Linked DNA regions of Homo sapiens: region 1 is linked to region 2. Evidence: promoter capture Hi-C in 16 types of primary human blood cells and fetal thymus (Javierre and others, 2016). All regions are on one chromosome and are shown on one strand. Each heading gives the region's core, a stretch centred on a gene start or on the middle of the fragment in contact. The rest is flanking DNA. Distances are from core to core; before and after follow the strand shown.

Evidence for each region. The method cuts DNA at HindIII sites, captures the fragments that hold promoters and counts their contacts. A CHiCAGO score of 5 or more calls a contact.
Region 1: a contact is called between a fragment that was not itself captured here and the fragment with the promoter of TMEM150A in region 2, in 4 of 17 cell types (monocytes, fetal thymus, erythroblasts and 1 more). The highest score is 7.6, in monocytes.

What each region holds. Positions count from the first base shown.
Region 1 is chr2:86,080,078-86,083,038 of GRCh38, reverse strand. It overlaps POLR1A (RNA polymerase I subunit A), which reads left to right. Exons shown (of 34, transcript NM_015425.6): 8 at 1,333-1,438; 9 at 2,061-2,223. Among named protein-coding and RNA genes, the nearest start is that of POLR1A, 24 kb to the left of the region's middle. The HindIII fragment of the contact is 2,227 bases long and covers 598-2,824 here.
Region 2 is chr2:85,601,278-85,604,030 of GRCh38, reverse strand. It overlaps TMEM150A (transmembrane protein 150A), which reads left to right and starts at 1,333. Exons shown (of 8, transcript NM_001031738.3): 1 at 1,333-1,424; 2 at 1,967-2,147; 3 at 2,549-2,596. The coding sequence starts at 2,083. It also overlaps a transcript of USP39 not described here. RefSeq lists silencers at 1,124-1,703, 1,804-1,863. The HindIII fragment of the contact is 3,378 bases long and covers 1-2,633 here.

The DNA.
Region 1 (2,961 bases), core at 462-2,961, 480 kb before region 2:
TTTTATTTCCTGGACTCATTAACCCTGCCTTATTACTTCTTTTAAGTTGTAGTGATTGTAGCTTCCTCCTGGAACTGATCCAGAGGTTTGGGGCAGTCTTCAGGGCACATTGACATTGAGTCATAGAGCAGGAGAGGTCATACCCAGCACCAAAAACTTGACAATTATCGCAGCTGAGCCTGGTTATGAAATGACAACTGCAGGTGGGCCTCACTTAATACAGGTTGGCATATTTTTAGAAGGTTCAGTGTAACTTATTTTAAATGCCCGTAAGTAAAATGCTTTGTCCTTCTGTGAATCAAAGAATGAACTCTGTCTTATTTAAATTGGGACTTTACTATAAGGGAAATCCTTCTTTCCTTTTGAGTGTATAACAAAACCTACGCAGTATATTCAAGCCCTTGTGAGAGTATGTTGTGGAACGCTGACTATAACCTCTGTGTAATAAGCGCTTACAAATGAACATGTTGTTAAAGAGGTATCAGAAAAAAAAAAAAGCACTGGAGTTAGTATGATTGCTTCTGTGGCAGGCCCTAGTACATTTTAATCTTTTTCTCTAGGCATTTTTTAAAGTAACCAGAAACCTGAAATAAAGCTTTGATCCACAGAAGATCCTTTCTTGGCAGTAACTGTTAGGGGTGGGAGGAGGCTAACTTAAAAAAAAATTTTTTTATTCAACATATTTTTTATGAAGATCAAAGTAATGATGTGTGTGCTGTCTGTGTTTTAATAGTCCAGGAGGGTGATTAAAAACAAGTGAAGTTTCTTCCCCATCCTTGCCCATCTCAGTCCCTGGTTTAAGAGCTATTGTCCCTGTAGTACCCATTTTTATGCTATCATATCCCCTGCATACAAACTGTCATGTACACAGGGGCTATTTTTTGTTTTTATAAAGAAAAATGAGGCCAGGCACGTTGGCTCATGCCTCCAATCACAGCAATATGGGAGGCTGAGGCAGGTGGATCAATTGAGCCCAGGAGTTCGAGACCAGCCTGGGCAACCAAGCAAAACCTCATCTCTTAAAAAAAAAAATACAAAAATTAGCTGGACATGATAGCACGCACCTGTAGTCCCAACTACTTGGAAGGCTGAGGTGGCAGGATTGCCTAAGCCTGGGAGATCAAGGCTGCAGTGAGTCATGATCGCACCACTGCACAGCAGCCTGGGCGACAGGAGTGAGACCTTTTCTCAAAAAAGAAAACTGTGACCTTAACTCTACATATTATCTTGTATTCTGTTTTTTCCTCACTCAGTAATATTTTTATGGTTGTCCTCCCATGCCCTTAGTGATAGATTTAAATGGTCTTCTTGGTTTATTTCTTTCCAACGCAGGATTCTTTCTGAACTACCTTTTTTCGGGAATGGATGATGATGGTATGGAATCCAGATTCAATCCCAGTGTGTTCTTTCTAGATTTCTTGGTGGTGCCGCCCTCAAGGTAATACCCTTTAATTAACTTATTTCACCTGAAAAAAAGCGTACTAAGGAACTGAAATGTGACCTCTAGGAGAGGTGAAAGGGCCAAGGGCACTGAGAGACAAAGCTGCAGTTCCGCTCCAGGTGCAGGTGGTGGGAGGGCTTGCTTTCCTTCCCGTTTGTTGTGAACGCAATAGGAATGTTGGTTGTTTTTGTTTGTTTGTTTTGAAGTGGAGTCTTGCACTGTCTCCCAGGCTGGAGTGCAGTGGCATGACCTTGACTTACTGCAACCTCTGCCTCCTGGGTTCAAGTGATTCTCCTACCTCAGCCTCCTGAGTAGCTGGGATTACAGGCACGCACCACCACACCCAAATAATTTTTGTATTTTACATAGAGATGGGGTTTCACCATGTTGGCCAGGCTGGTCTCGAACTCCTGACCTCCAGTGATCCACCTGCCATGGCTTCCCAAAGTACTGGGATTACAGGCTTAAGCCACCACACCCAGCCGGAATGTTGGTTAGGAAGGTTGGTTGTTTTGAGCATGGTGGGGTGTGCTCCCTACAGTAGGCATGGGTGAGAGGCTGAAGAACATGACCCTTTCCTCACACTAAACATTCATTTATTCCGTATGTCCCCCTGCAGGTATCGCCCAGTCAGTCGCCTAGGAGACCAGATGTTTACTAATGGCCAGACGGTGAACTTGCAGGCTGTCATGAAGGATGTAGTTCTGATTCGAAAACTTCTGGCATTGATGGCCCAAGAACAGAAGTTGCCAGAGGAAGTGGCCACACCCACTACAGATGAGGTCAGGGCTGCTCTGTTGCTGATGTGATGAGCACACATGCTTAGTGCTAACTCTGTGAGCTGTGGATGTAGACACTGGGTCTGGGAGATGCTTCCTGGGATGTTCTGTGCAGCTGGCAGCAGCCTTAGTGTGAGCTCTGGGCTTAGGGGGCACCTAGGAACATTAGGGGGACACACATGGGTCTGAGCATGGAAAGGTGTGGGTTCTGGTCTAGCTTCTACACCGAACGACCATGCCAGGTGACCCTAGTTGAGTCACTTCCTTATACTAGTGTCTGCTATAAAGTGCATGTGATTTGTGGTGAGATTTCACACCTAGGCTGTTCCGGGCTACCAGCTCTCGCAGCTCTAGAAAGAATAGCCTACTTCCCTCAGGCTTTAAGAGTGTCCCTTTTGGGTCACAGTACTAGAGCTCATGTTGCCAGCTCTATTTTGGACACGTTAATGTCTCCAGCATTGGGGTCAGGAAGGCAGTATTGCAGAGTGGAAATTCCTCTCAGAATAGGACAGTTTCAACTAACATTTCCTGAGCCCCATCTGTGTGCCGGGTTAATTAGTAGGTGTTCAGTGGGTACAAAGGTGAATTGGGCACCCAGGAAGCTTGCTGAGGTCATCAAGATCCTTCCCAGCTCTAAAGTACTCTCTGGATGCAAATAGGCAGCCTTGGGTAGACAGTCCGGGTTCTCAGACTCCAGCCGCTGCGACAGTCCCGCTGTCTGCCAGGCCCATCACAAGGTGG
Region 2 (2,753 bases), core at 84-2,583:
CTGTGCACCATTCAGGTGATGATCTGTCATCTCACAAGGGCTCCAACAGATGCTGGGACCGCCTTTGAGACAGAATGCCAGGCACACTTCTGATATGTGAAAGTATTTCCACCCTTGCAATAATTTAAGAAACATCCGGGCCAGGCGCAGTGGCCCACGCCTGTAATCCCAGCACTTTGGGAGGCCGAGGCGGGCGGATCACGAGGTCAGGAGATCGAGACCATCCTGGCTAACATGGTGAAACCCCGTCTCTACTAAAAATACAAAAAAATTAGCCGGGTGAGGTGGCGGGCGCCTGTAGTTCCCAGCTACTCGGGAGGCTGAGGCAGGAGAATGGCGTGAACCCGTGAGGCGGAGCTTACAGTGAGCCGAGATCGCGCCACTGCACTCCAGCCTGGGCGACAGAGCGAGACTCCGTCTCAAAAAAAAAAAAAAGAAAAAGAAAAAGTAAAAAAAAAAGAAACATCCAGGAATGCACTCATAGCCTGTAAGTTTTTGGTGAAGCTGGTCAGTAATTTTTCCCACACTATCCTGTTTCCTTTTCCCAGATTCCTCCGGGTCTCTCACCTTCCCCTCTTTGCTTACCAACACTGGCCATGTTAATCCTTACCTACTCTACACTGACACCTACATGTGTCTATTTAGAATGGATGTCCTCTGGTCTCTGCCGTCTTATTTCAAATAAGTGTTGATCAGTCGGGAAACACGTCTTGGACACTGATTTCTGGCTAGTACATTGTGTACTTGTATGCAGGAAAGCAAAAAGTATCTAATGAAAGCAGCCCTCCTCCGGAGTTTGCTGAGCCACAGGAACCATAAGCCAAATCCCAGGCGCTTGGATTTCTTAAGAAACAGCCAAGTCTTTGTGTCTGCTTCTCTGGACCCACCGCAGCCCTGGCCAGAGGCAGGCATGGGGCGCCACGTTGAGAGAGCTTCCTAGAGGACTCACCGTTGGCCGGTGCAGGCTGCAAAATGTGCGCAGTGGCGGAGAGACGCTCCTCCAGCCATGTGCACGGCGACAATCCCAGGTAGAGCTGGAATGCAGGCTGCCCCGAGATCCCCACCTGCTGACGCTTCCCCGGCAGGAATCGGTTAAACGGAACCTCTAGTCATCTCGGTTTTAGAGCGGTCTTCACGCCACAGCCCTCCGCGCCCAGGTCCTCCGAAGTTGGGACACCGCCCACGTTTCCCCCGTGACGCGGGCGCGGGGGCTCGGGAGTTGTAGTCTCGGGCAGGGCGCGGGCACCGAGGCCGGGGCTGCGCGGACTCCACGTCCCGGCGGGCGGCGCGGCGAGGCCTGGGGCCTCCAGGGGCGGGGCCGCTCGGCCCTTTAAACCTTTCAGGGCTGCTCCGAGGGCCGCAGCTAGAGTCGGCGCCACGAGGGGGCCGAGCAGGGTGCGGCGGCGGCGGGGCGCTCCGGGGAGGTGCGTACTGGGCTCCTTCCCTTCCTCCGGGCTTCCAGGAATCACCTGGGGACTCTCGCGTCCCGGGTCCTGGGGGGTCGCCGGCCGCAGGGTCCGGCCCCAGCCGGGGTCCCCGCGCCCAGGCGAGCGGGGGCCGGGCCGGGCTGGGCTTTCCGCGTGAACCCGCCCCTCGCCCAGGGCGCCGATGGTCAGGTGGTTGCCTGCGCGCCGCCGACTCGCCACCGCTCCACTGGGCCGGCACCCAGCCTCTCCTTGGCGTGGCCTCTTCGGTTGTCCAGCCCTTCTCCCAGCCCTGGTCCCTCAGAAGGAGGGTAACTCCCTTCCAGATGTTACGGTCCGCCTGCGTCTCTCAGCACGCCGGTGGCATTTGGGTTGACCGCGGAGGCCCCCAGTGCCAGAGGGTGTTCACGTTCTGCCGTGGGCTCAGCCCAAACTTTGGACGCTCAGAGACCCAACGGGAGCGCTGGATAAGGTGTTGACCCCCTTCCCCTCCCCCTTCCCGGCCAGTTACCCACTCCTGGACTTTGATCTCTCTCCACCAGGCCAGGACAGCTGATGGTTGTGGCAGAAACATCTCAAGGTAGCTGGTCCGCCCCCACTTCCCCATCTACCTCTTGTCCTCCCCCCAACACCACCACCACCCTGGCTCCCCTCCCTCATGACCGCCTGGATCCTCCTGCCTGTCAGCCTGTCAGCGTTCTCCATCACTGGCATATGGACTGTGTGAGTAAAGGGGGGTGCCCGGGGGGCAACAGGAGCTTGATGACGCACACAAAGTCTCTTGTCCTGTCATAGCCACGGTGGTACCCAGGGTCACTCTGGGTGTCTCAAAAGCCTGACTTGGTGCCTGGGCACACAGCCCCTTGGGACAAGCTGGCACCACTGCTGTCCAGCAGGGTGGCCCTGACAAATATACTTCTAGCCAGGGCAATTTCCAGAGGGCCTGTAGCTGGGGGCATGCTGCAGGTGCTGGTGTGGCATCAAGCCTTAGGGACCTCAACTTGAGTCCCCAGCAACAATAATGAGGCTGAATGGGGCCAGAAATCAAGGTTGAAGAGAAGGGTCATGGGGTGGGTTGAGTGGGGCTCGGGAAGGCTGCCAGGGTGACAGTTCTGTTCCCACAGGTATGCCATGGCTGTGATGAACCACCATGTATGCCCTGTGGAGAACTGGTATGAAGGACTCTGCAGACAACCTTGCTCTAAAGCTTCCTTCATCTCTGTCCCCTCTTGGGCCTGAGGCTGCCACGAGCCAGACTGCAACCCTGAGCCTCACTGCTCTTCTCTGAAATTGGTCCCCAGGCATGGCTTCTTGCCACCTACCCACTTC